Regions from separate parts of the Homo sapiens genome. Here regions 1 and 3 are each linked to region 2. The links are contacts of gene promoters, found by promoter capture Hi-C in blood cells and fetal thymus (Javierre and others, 2016). All regions are on one chromosome and are shown on one strand. The core of a region is centred on a gene start or on the middle of the fragment in contact, and the rest is flanking DNA. Distances in the headings are between cores, read along the strand shown.

The links. The method cuts DNA at HindIII sites, captures the fragments that hold promoters and counts their contacts. A CHiCAGO score of 5 or more calls a contact.
Region 1: a fragment that was not itself captured here is called in contact with the fragment with the promoter of ME3 in region 2 in 1 of 17 cell types (endothelial precursors); the score reaches 7.7 in endothelial precursors.
Region 3: a fragment that was not itself captured here is called in contact with the fragment with the promoter of ME3 in region 2 in 1 of 17 cell types (endothelial precursors); the score reaches 5.3 in endothelial precursors.

Annotation. Positions count from the first base shown.
Region 1 is chr11:86,475,599-86,479,412 of GRCh38, forward strand. All of the region lies in intron 7 of ME3 (malic enzyme 3), which reads right to left. Among named protein-coding and RNA genes, the nearest start is that of CCDC81, 100 kb to the left of the region's middle. The HindIII fragment of the contact is 2,351 bases long and covers 887-3,237 here.
Region 2 is chr11:86,670,409-86,674,624 of GRCh38, forward strand. ME3 (malic enzyme 3) reads right to left here and starts at 2,208. Exons shown (of 15, transcript NM_001161586.3): 1 at 1,916-2,208; 2 at 1,354-1,550. The coding sequence starts at 1,536. The HindIII fragment of the contact is 7,449 bases long and covers 1-3,091 here.
Region 3 is chr11:86,432,491-86,436,696 of GRCh38, forward strand. It overlaps the pseudogene PTP4A1P6 and a transcript of ME3 not described here. Among named protein-coding and RNA genes, the nearest start is that of CCDC81, 60 kb to the left of the region's middle. The HindIII fragment of the contact is 1,255 bases long and covers 1,747-3,001 here.

The DNA.
Region 1 (3,814 bases), core at 812-3,311, 190 kb before region 2:
AAGGAGGGCACATAATTGGATAAGTTTTCCTTAATTTCCCACAGCTTTTCTCATTATCTGGCCTTGGGGAAATAATTTTCTCTTTGGGTCTCAGTTTCCTCATCTAAAAAGTGAGGAAATTGGATCAAATGAGTGGGTTGTTTCTTGCTCAGATATTCCAAGAATGCAAGATTAAAGTCCTAGGCTGGATCCAGTGAGAAAATGAGAATTCTAAGATACAGACTGAACCACAGAAGGCATTCCTAATATTCAGTATATATATATATATATATATATAGAGAGAGAGAGAGAGAGAGAGAGAGAAAGAGAAAGAGAGAGAGAGAGAGCAGTGACCCTCTATGCTGAGAGGGACTCAGAATGTGAACACCCCTGTGAAACATTGCAATCGGGGCTTAGACCTAACAGCTTTTCACAATCTTTTAAAATTAACATAAAATCCTCATTAACTTCCTTTGTAGTCTGGATGCTATATGCCTAGGGATTTTTCTTTGCATATGTTGTGTTAAAACCAACAGGAGAAGCTTGGAGCTACAGAACCTCAGCTAAGCTTTTGGCAGGACGCTCAGTTCTAACATCCTGTCTTGTACAGACCTCCACACTTGACCTTGCCTGCTGTGGACCTATCTGCAGGCCTGAATGATGAGATGGAAACAGCCCTGAAAATGAAAGGACATTCAAGGCTGGGAAAATAGCGAGCACGAAGGCTCTGCCTCTGTAACAGAGACAACACATTTAAGGAGCGGCAGGAACAGGGGTGGGAGTTGGAGCCATCAAAGGCATCCTTCCAGCTCTGAGGGCAAAGTACAAGGCTTCTATATGTGGAGCCTCTGAATAGGTCAGTATCAGTGGGTGATCTCAGAGCAATTTTGCAGCTTTCTCTTGGGCAAGCTTCTGTTTCTCATTTCTGTACAGAGAACTGTGTCTCATGAAAAGATGTTTGGTTACTTGAGGGGGTGACTGACTCTGAGTGGTGAGTTTGAAAGGCCCAAGTAACACTCAGCTTCAAACAGCTGCAAAAAAATATAAGAACACCTCACCCTCAGGAACACACGGACCATACTGCTCCCCTCTATGTACACATGAATCTACACAACACCGTCCACTGGAGGAGGGAGAGCAAAACTGAATAGGTCTGTGTTGGGGGTGGGGATGAAGACCAAGCATTTACTAATTGCACATACCAGGGATCTAAAATGGAAATGGATCACACCTAGGGCTGTTTCATTTTTGTTTTTGTTTTTTCCTTCCTAGGTTTAGCACTGGGGAAGAGAGGAAAAGTAATATTGGAATGAAGGGGAGGGATGGGTGAGGGACTGTGGACAGCAGTGTTGGACATGTGAATGGATATATTAACTCAAACATGAATGCGTGAATGTGGGCACAGTGAAGCACTGCCTAAAGGAGAATGGCTTTGGAAACTGCCTAAATTAATAATAATAGCAAACATGATTTTTTTACTATCACTCAGGTGTATGTTAAACATTTTACATGGATGGCCTCATTTATCCATCATAAGTACTCTCCCAGTCTTAAAAATGCATTTTAGAGAGGAGGAAACTGAGGCACAGATGAATTAAGTCACTCGTTGATAAGTGTTAATAAGTAGCTTGTTAATAAGAGATTGGAACTCAGGCAGTCTAGCTCTAGAATTCGTGCTTTTAACAATTGCAGTTAGTGGGTAGGGTCTTAATCAGGCTCCCCTTTCTTAGATGAGGTACTTGTACTTTGTAAACTTCAGTTTCTTCATCTCTTAAAATAAAGTGAATAGTACCTAACTCATACAGTTGTTGTGAGAATTAGACAAGTTAATATTGTGTGAAGTGCTTGTATCAGTGTCTGCTTATGGTAAGCAATTAAATAATTAAGAGTTATTATTGTTATTATTGGTACTTATTCATTGAAAGGGATCAGATCCCTGCTCCCCGCCACCCATAAGACCCTTATATTCCTTCATCTCTTCTGCCATAATCTAAAAGTTTCAGTTCTGGGGATGATTTTGTTCCTATTCTTGATACCAAGCGATAAAATCAGGCTGCTAAGAGAAAATGAAAAGGAAATAGCCAGCTAGTGTCATTGAATCATATCCCGAGGCAGTGAGTTTCTTCCAGCACATTTTGGCCTCAGTCCTGAGGCTGGACCTTAACTAGTGAACTGCAAACTCACTCAATTATGCAGTCTGCTTGGTGCGATGGAAGTGAAAATGTCCTAGAGAGTTGGGTGCTAGTATGCATTTTGATAGTCTCCTAGCCTGTGACCCAGGACAGATTCCTTGCATGCATAGGAGTTTGTCACCATGCAAAATCTGGCTGTTGTTCTTCTGAGAACATGGGGGAGCTGGACTGTCAACAATGAGCCATATCAGGCTGAAACTGGGAAACTGTTCTGCTCCTTCAGAGTCAAGACAAGCCAGAATGAGTGTCAAATTTCCTTCCTCTGTGCTTCCTCAGATGTGGTCAGATTCATAGCCTTCAGTCTATTCTAATTGGTAGCTAGCCTGGTGTGGACTTTTGACCACCCACCAATCAACCAACTCCCACCCTCACCATTTACTGCACGAGTAAAGCCACGCTTCCTAGGAACTACCATTGGTAGAGATGTTACTGAGTCATAGGCCCTGAGATAGGAATGATCTATAAAGGCCATCCACGCCAGTTCTTGAACCCTTCTACAACAGTCCAGACTCATCTTTGCCCAATCTCTCCTCTGACAATGAAAGCCTAAGGACCAAAAAAAAAAAAAAAAAAAAAAAAAGGTTAAAGAAAAGCAATAGGCCATTTTAGCAGAGATGTCACAATGCAGTGCATGATTAATTAATTAGCAAATGAATTCTACAGCCAGTAAGATTACAGTCAGGGCAAGAGTATCAGGCCAGGCTGGTCAGAGTAGATTTCCCTAGGGAAGGCAGAATTTGAATTGGGGCATTGTTATGGGTTCTGCCTCTAATCTCTTCCCACATCTTGTCAATTTTAATACAATACTTTTGTTGCTCAAGAACCTACCATGCCTCCCTATTGCTCACTACATCAAGTCTCAAATAAGGTATTTTGTGGATTGGTAATTTTCAAACATTTTTTGCAGAATAATTCTTTAATAAAATATTGAGCAGAAACCAGATATAGAAGGCAATGAAAAACAATAAAGTGTTTCCTCAAGTGGTTTACATTTTTTATGGTTGGTGGAAAGTATTTCATTTCTAGCACTCCTGATATGCTTCTTTGGAGTCCTGGGGCCCAGGGAAGCTTGGTTTAAAAACCACTGCATTAGATGACTGTAGCCCCTTCCACTTTTGAGCTCTCATAATCATGACCTTCTGCCTGGATTGCAAGGCCTATCTTAGTGTGATGGTTAATTTTAGGTGTCAACTTGGCTGGTTTAGGGGATACTCAGATAGCTGGTAAAGCATTATTTCTGGGTATGTTTGTGAGGGTGTTTCTGGAAGAGACTGGTATTTGTATTAGTAAATTGAATAAGGAAGATTCACCCTCACCCCATATGGGCAGGCACCATCCAGTTGGTTGATGGCTCAGATAGAACAAAAAGGCAGAGGAAGGGTGAATTCGTTCTCTCTTCTGAATTTGGAACACCCATCTTCTCCGGCCCTTGAGCATCAGAACTCCAGGCTCTTTGGCCTTCTGACTCCAGGATGTGCACCAGCGGCCCCACTTTGGATTTATACTGAGCTATGCCACCAGTTTCCCTGGTTCTCCAGCTTGCAGACACCATATCATGGGATTTCTTTACCTCCATCATCACGTTAGCCACTTCTCATAATAAATCCACTCTCAAGTATCTAAATACCTAATATCCTATTGGT
Region 2 (4,216 bases), core at 958-3,457:
AGCCGTGCCTGCAACCCTTCCTCTAGATTCTTTAGATAAAGGAGCCTTTGTGTGCTTAAGCCAGTTTGTATTTTCTAACGCTTACTAGCAAAGTAATTCAAGGTGATAACAAACACCTTGAACACTTTGGAAAGTGGTAGCGTCCAAACAATTTAAGGTTTCTTTTGGAAAGAGCAGGACTCCAATGTGATAGAGGTTGATTTTGATTTTTTTTTCCTTAGCCGCTTCTATTAGTTCTGTAGGAAACAGTCACAATACTTCACATTATATAGTTGTTCCTACTTCTCAAAAACATCTTTTCCATACAGACTGCCTCACCTGAATTTCACAATCCAGAGTCAGAGCAATTATGAAAAAAAAATTTATTTTGCAGTAATTGTTATTCAGCACTTTATACAGTTTAAAATATGATTTCAAGTTCAGTGATTCATTTTATTGTCACAATAACCAAATGAGATAGAAATGGTGGGTCTATCATAATATCTATTTTAGGCTGGAGAAAGTTGGGCCTCAGATAAGTTAAATGAGATATGTGAGTTAATTTGAGGAGGTAGGGGGAGACAGGACTAAATCTGTCCTTGCTTCTATTTCTCTCACCCAATCCTCTGAACCAAAGATACTAAACTCTATTCCCAAAAACAAATACAAAAGAGCTAGCGGTGGGTTGAACTCGACCAAAGCATTGGAGATCTGGATTCCAGTGGCAGAGCCAGAACTAACTAGCTGGTGACCTTGGGCAAGTTTCCTTTGTCTTGTTTTTTGTAAAAGAAGAGGTTTAAACTAGGATCTCTAATGCTCCTGCAAGCTCGAAAATTTCTATAAGTCTAGACTTTTCCATCCTTGCTCTCAAATTAATCTTTTTCTCAGAATAATAATCATAACCTTATTTATTCTCCCACTGGGTACCAGGCACTGTTCTAACGTACCCCCATTTTCTACCCGCATTTTCTCTTTAGATCTCACGACATTCCTAAGACAATTATATCTCTTTTACAGATAAGGAAACCTAGGCTCATGTAGGTTAAATGAACTGCCCAAGACCAATAAAATTAGTAAGCATCAAGGGGAGAGCTGACCGCAGGTCAGACTGACCGCGAGGATCTAAACCTGGTCTGTGTTGTTACTGCAGAAGAAATTAGGCTCCCTGCATTACTGGTCGCCTCTCTCCACGCATAAAAGGGAGAGGAGGGACAAGAAAGCCAAACCAAGTCACAACAAGCCCCTGCAAGGCAAAAACAGAAAAACCGCTGGAAGGGCGCCCGGGAGGATCCTTTCTGGGTCCAGGGGGCGGGGCGCAATTTTCCGGCAGCCACGGGATCGCAACGCGGGCCGTCCTGCCCTCTGGCCCATTACCTTGTTGAGATGAGGGTTCCTGGTGACATCGTATCCGCGCTTCTTCAGGGGCACAGGGCGCGCCGGGCCAGGCTTGGAGTGGCAGCCTTGGGCGGGCGCGGTGGGTGTCCAGCGCGGGAGGGCGCCGCAGGCCCGGCCCGGCCAGGGAGCCAGCCGCGTGCCTGTCCCCAGCGCGGCACCCATGGTCCTTGGCAGACCTGGCACGGGAGAGAAAGCAAGGTCAGGGCCTCCTTCCAGCCAGCCAGGACCCACGCGCGCTGCGGGGCACCGGGCCTGATCCGGGGACGCGCCCTCTGGGAGAGGGCAGGTGCTCCCAAAGGGTTAAATGTTCCAGCCCCCGCCACTCCTCGGCTGCCACCTGCTCGGCTCCGCGCGGGGCGCCAGGCCTAGCCAAGAGCCAGGCAAAGCGAAACCAAGCCCTGGAAGCAGATCCGGTGCGGGTGACAGCCGGCGCCACCCCTGCCCCCATCCCTGTGAAAAAGAGGCGACTGCGCGGCGAGGGGTCCCCGTACCCCTAATCCCGCGTGGTGGCTTGCCTCGGTCCTCTCCTTCCCTGGCCCACCTGCGCTGCTCGGGGAGCTGAGGTCTACGCGGTCCCGCTGCGGAGCAGGCGGGGTGAGGAGCTGCGGTCTGTGAGTCCTCTCCCGCCAATGGGTGGACCGCGCTGGCGGCCGCGAGCTCGCGGAGCTGGTGAGTTCCTCAAAGAGCGGTCCCACAACCTTTGTTCTCAGTGCCTGGCTTCCCCTGAGGACGCGCGTGGGGCGCCTCAGCACTGCGTGCACGTGGTTTTCCCCAGTGACAAGAAGCAGCTCAGAATGCCCGCCTGAGACTCTCCATCTTGGCAAGACTAAATGCACAGAGGGGGATTTGCGTTTGGGGGTCAGCATATCCTCGCACTCTCCCAACATTCGGGGAAGGGCGTGCCTTCAGGATTTGGAGTAGAAATCCTCAGGCATTCGGTGCTCAGTGTTGCCTTGTGCTGTCCAATATAATAGCCATTCGCCACGTGTGGCTATATAAACGTAAATAAATTAGTCTATATAGAATAAAATTTAACATCCAGTTCTGCAGTCACGCTAGCCACATTTCCAGTTCAAGAGCCACTTGTATGCAGATACAGAACATTTCTGTTTTTGCGGATACTTCTATTAAGCATCATTGACATAGGAGCCACAGTTACTAAGAGGACTTCTGAGGACCCCATGGAGTTTGCCATGGGTTATTGGGGCCAGACAGGGATCTTGGGGTCCATCTAGCCCCAAACTTAATTTTATACTTTCTCCACACAGTAGTCAGGAGATTCCTTTTAAAGCAAACACTTTGTTGTGTGTGGAATAAAATCCAAACTTTCAGGGCCTACAAGATTTCCCATAAACTGGCTCTTGCCAGCCTCTTCAGACTTATCCTACTCTACTCTTTCCTTCTCACTGATCTCTGGCCATACTTGATCCTTCCTGTGTCTTCACCCCACTTGGTTCCCTCCCACTGCAGGGCCTTTGCACTTGCTATTGCCTCTCCTTGGAAGGCTCATACTCCAGCCTTGCAAACCACTACTTCATTCCCACCTCTCAGTTCTCCACTAAGTTGTCAACTCGAAGGCCTTTCCTCTATCCCATTCAATGTCAGCCTGCACTAGGAACTATAGAGTGAAGGGGTTTTTCTCTTTAGAGAACTTAACACAGTCAGTAGCGCGCTTGTTTTTCTGATTGTTTACTGACTATCTCCTGTCTAGAATGTAAGCTTCATGAAGAGAGGCTCTTTGCCTGTGAACCTGTGTGTCCTCACTGCCTAGCTCACTGCCTGGTATGTAGTTGCACAATAAATAGTTGTTAGGTGAAGGGAAGTGGCAGCCACTTTCATAAGGATCGTGAACCCTTAGACTTACTGACAGACAGTTGGCACGGTCCTCTGCTGACACCCCTTCAAAGCTCCCGGTGCCAGCATTAGCCCCGTTGTAAGTACCAAGCAGACATCATGGCCCATAATGTGCTAAGGGGTGCTCCTGCCTGAGTTCAGGATTCCCTCATCCCTTCAGGAATAATCGTCTCCTCCTGCAGTCTCTCTCCTCCCTGTGTAATATCTAATTTTCAACTTGAATGATCTACGTAAAATAGTTATTTCCAAAACAGAATTACAATTACCTGGTAGGAAATAAGGATGGGGCAAAAATACAGCTTTCCAGGCCCCATCCATGAAGATTCTCATCCAGTAGGGTTTACATCCCTGAAGTCAGGTTTACTCTTGGACTGCATATTTACATAAGCTTATAAATGATCTTTTTTTCTGCCTTAAACCAGTTTGTGTCAGATGTGTGATTGTGTGCAACCAATAGTATTAACTAAATCCTTTCAACACTATTTTTATATTGGCACTTCTTCCCACCAGTCAACATCTTTGGGGGGCAGAGATCATGTGTGTTTCCATCTTTGGTATCTAGTGCATGCAAATATTTGGAAATTGATTGTTGAACCAGTTTGCCCTTGCTGAATACAATGACCTTTCCCTCCCCTGGAGGATATCTAATAGGTAACTTTAGTCATTTGAAACCAGGATGTAAACAACAAAGGTTTCCAAACAAGCGAACATAATTTTTATAGCATCAATTCACTAAAGCTTGTACAGTTTACATATAAAAGTCTCTTACATGTCCTCACCTGTGGCCTATATTCTCTTAACCCAGGCATAATTCTACAATGTTGTTTTGTGTGTGTGTTTGTTCTTTGGTGACAGGAAAGAAAAGGTTAAAGGCAGGTCCACCAGGAGCAGTGACAGAAGGCAGTAGCAAGAGGAGGTGGTGGCTTCTCAGTTCCATACAGTTGTCCAGGGACCCAGGTTTTCTCTTTTGCTGCCAGGCTCTTCTGTA
Region 3 (4,206 bases), core at 1,124-3,623, 240 kb before region 2:
GGTTTATTAGAGATAAACGGCACGGCGCTTTTAACAGCAAGCAACTTTTGTATTTGGAGAAATATCATTCTCAAATGCGGCTTCGCTTTGTGTCCGGAATTGGTGGGTTCTTGGTCTCACTGACTTCAAGAATGAAGCTGCGGACCCTCGCGGTGAGTGTTAACAGTTCTTAAAGGCGGCGTGTCCGGAGTTTGTTCCTTCTGATGTTCGGATGTGTTCGGAGTTTCTTCCTTCTGGTGGGTTCGTGGTCTCGCTGGCTCAGGAGTGAAGCTGCAGACCTTCGTGGTGAGTGTTACAGCTCTTAAGGCGGTGCGTCTGGAGTTGTTCGTTCCTCCTGGTGGGTTCGTGGTCTTGCTGGCTTCAGGAGTGAAGCTGCAGATCTTTGTGGTGAGTGTTACAGCTCGTAAAGGTAGTGTGGTCCCAAAGAGTGAGCAGCAGCAAGATTTATTGCAAAGAGCAAAAGAACAAAGCTTCCACAGCGTGGAAGGGGACCCTAGCTGGTTGCCACCGCTGGCTGGGGCAGCCTGCTTTTATTCTCTTATCTGGCCCCATCCACACCCTGCTGATTGGTCCATTTTACAGAGAGCTGATTGGTCCGTTTTGACAGGGTGCTGATTGGTGCATTTACAATCCCTGAGCTAGACACAAAAGTTCTCCATGTCCCCACTAGATTAGCTAAATACAGAGTGTAGATTGGTGCATTCACAAACCCTGAGCTAGACACAGGGTGCTGATTGGTGTGTTTACAAACCTTGAGCTAGATACAGACTGCCGATTGGTGTATTTACAATCTCTTAGCTAGACATAAAGGTTCTCCAGGTCCCCACCAGAGTAGCTGGATACAGTGTCAACTGGTGCATTCACAAACCCTGAGCTAGACATAGGGTGCTGATTGGTGTGTTTACAAACCTTGAGCTAGACATAAAGGTTCTCCAAGTCCCCACCAGAGTCAGGAGCCCAGCTGGCTTCACCCAGTGGATCCCGCACCGGGGCCGCAGGTGGAGCTGGCTGCCAGTCCCGCGCCGTTCGCCTGCACTCCTCAGCCCTTGGGTGGTCGATGGGACTGAGCGCCATGGAGCAGGGGGCAGCGCTTATCGGGGAGGCTCGGGCCGCACAGGAGCCCACGGAGGTGGGGAGGCTCAGGCATGGCAGGCTGCAGGTCCCGAGCCCTGCCCCGCGGGGAGGCAGCTAAGGCCTGGCGAGAAATCGAGCACAGCGCTGGTGGGCTGGCACTGCTGGGGGACCCAGTACACCCTCCGTGGCTGCTGGCCCGGGTGCTAAGCCCCTCATTGCCTGGGGCCGGCAGGGCTGGCCGGCTGCTCTGAGTGCGTGGCCCGCCAAGCCCATGCCCACCCGGAACTCCAGCTGGCCCACAAGCGCCGGGCGCAGCCCCGGTTCCCGCTTGCGCCTCTCCCTCCACACCTCTCTGCAAGCTGAGGGAGCCAGCTCTGGCCTTGGCCAGCCTAGAAAGGGGCTCCCACAGTGCAGTGGCGGGCTGAAGGGCTCCTCAAGCGTGGCCAGGGTGGGCACCAAGGCCGAGGAGGCGCTGAGAGTGAGCAGGGGCTGTGAGGGCTGCCAGCACGCTGTCACCTCTCAGCTTCAAAGACTCCAGTGGTCACAGAAACAACTGTTGTATTCAATAAACCTGGCTGCCTGATGCTATTGCCTTGAAAGTGGGACTTGAGAAAAGACCTAATTTATTGTACATTTTAGCCAACATATGGGCTTAGTGAATAAGTCTGATGAAGCTTCCATAGGGATATCAAAAAGCCACGAATTTAACAGAAATGCAACTTCTATGTTTGGCTTAGTGCTATTCCTATGCCAGAAAAAATACATAAGAAATCTAGAGATTAGATGCCAAGATCCCCAGCACAAAATTTGTATATTTTTAGTATCATACAGAATTAAAACTCCAGGAACTATAACTTTATGTAGCTCATCCCTTAAGTCATATCAAACACTGCAAGTAGGGCCTATATGATTATTTGCCTGCTTCATGTTTACCATCCTACACGGGTCCCAGTATACATCAGGTTTGTCCAACAGGTGATTTTGTTGGATTCTTTACACATCTTGTGGTTATTTGATGTCTTTGTCTAATCTCATTTTGTTATGAAAACCTCCATTTTGAAAAATCGACATCTGATTGAAAGTTCATGCAAAATCCATGTTGTACAGAAGCACATGTGTTGAATGTCTTCAAATAAAAAGGCCTTACCGTTAATGTTTACGGTTGGGGTGTAACTTAACACAGAGGGCCCTGAAGACAGAATGAGAGGAGACTATGAAATATTTCTAGTAAAATGTTGTTTTGATCTTGTGCAGAACATATGGTCTAGGACTTTTAATTTAGTAAGTGTTTGTTAAAAGGTAAAGATGCATTGGTCCAAGGTAAATAGAGCAAATATGGACAGAATTACAAGGAAAATTGGCAAGTTTACCGTAGCAGTGGGAAGTTTTATTGTTCCTCTTTCAGAAGCAGATCAAGTAGACAAAAATCAAGATTTTGCATATAGATTTACACAAAACAGTCAACAAACTTGATCCCATGAACATACAAAGGGCATTGCATCCAACAATGGGAGAATACATATTTATAAGAGTACATGAACTATTAAATTTGACCATATATTTGATTATAAACCCATTTCAGCAAATTTTAAGCTATTTGAATAATACAGAACACCTTCTCTCACCACAATTCAATTAAATTAGGAGAAAAGCTAATATCCACACATCTGTAATTTTGAAAATCTCTCTAGAGACTTCCACTTCTAAATAGGATATAGTAGGTCATGGCAGCCTAAAACTTTGCCTGCAACAACTAGAAAAAGATGGAAAAATTATAAAGATCATATTTAAAGATATGTGAGAGCTATGAAAGCAATAAGGACTAGGTGAATGGGAATTCCAGAGAGGGAGGAGTCCTCCTGAGGTAAGTGGCCATTTTATTTTCTAGGGACATTTACTGATTCTGGACATGGACTAATAAGGATCAAGCTTGGTCTGTGAAGAGGGTCTCTCCTGAGGGAAAGGGAAACCCAGAAAAGCTTTTGGTGGTCACGTGGGGCTGGTGCAACAAATTGGAAAATTAAGAACTTTGGCCAGTTTCTTCTACGTGTTATAAGTTGGGTTCCTCAGGAAATAGACACTGAATCTGAGATTCGCATCCAGAGGATTACTGGGGTGTCTTCTCAGAGAACATCTATGGGGGAGCAAGAGAAACAGGATAGGGCATAAGAAGTTGAATGGTGATACATAGCAGTTGCAACAGTAGCCTCAGCCAGTCTCATAGGGAGCTCTGAGGATGGGATGGCTATTTAGAGATGTTCTCAATTGAGGCTAGGAATCTGGCCTTTGGGCCCTTGAATCAACCAGTCATTGCCTGTAGGCTTCCCTTGGGGATGATGGCATAATCTTGGGTGAAGCATTCACCTTCAGTCGAGGGCAATTCCTAGAGAGCGATGCAGCTGGTGGCCCTCAGCTGACAATGGCATCTGGAGGAATGAGTGTTTCAGACCCAAGGCAGGATCTAGGTGGTGCAACCACAGCATCCACTCTCTTAAATGACACTTGCTGAATACTGGGGCTATGTATGGGAGGCTGGGGAGTTAGAGTGAAGACTTACAAGGCAAGGGAACTCTCCCTTAATCTAATAGTGCTTAGGAGACAAAGTTCTCCACATTCTTACCAACAGATCTTTTTTTTTTATTATAGCCATTCTGGTGAGTGTTGTTATGCCATTGTGGTTTTAATTTTCTTATTACTAATAATGTTAAACATTTTTCATGTGCTTGTTAGCCATTCACCTATCTTTTTGGATAAAATGCTGATTTAAATATTTTTCTCATTTTAAAATTTGAATTGTCATCTTCTTATTAAGTTGAAGTAGTTCTTTATATATTCCGGATCCAGTGTCTTCGTCAGATATATGATTTGCAATTATTTTCTCCCAGTCTGCTGCTTGTCTTTTTCCCTCCCAAAAAAAAGTGTTTCAAAGTGCAAAATTTTAAATTTTGATGAAGTACAATTTATTTCTTTTATGAATCATGCTTTTAAAGTTGTATCTCAGAACTCTCCTCAACCTAAGTCATAAAGATATTCTGCTATATTTTATCTTAGAAATTTTACAGTTTTAGCTCTCACATTTAGGTCTGTGATCCATTTCAGGTTGATTTTTGTTTGGTTTGAGATGTGTAAAGG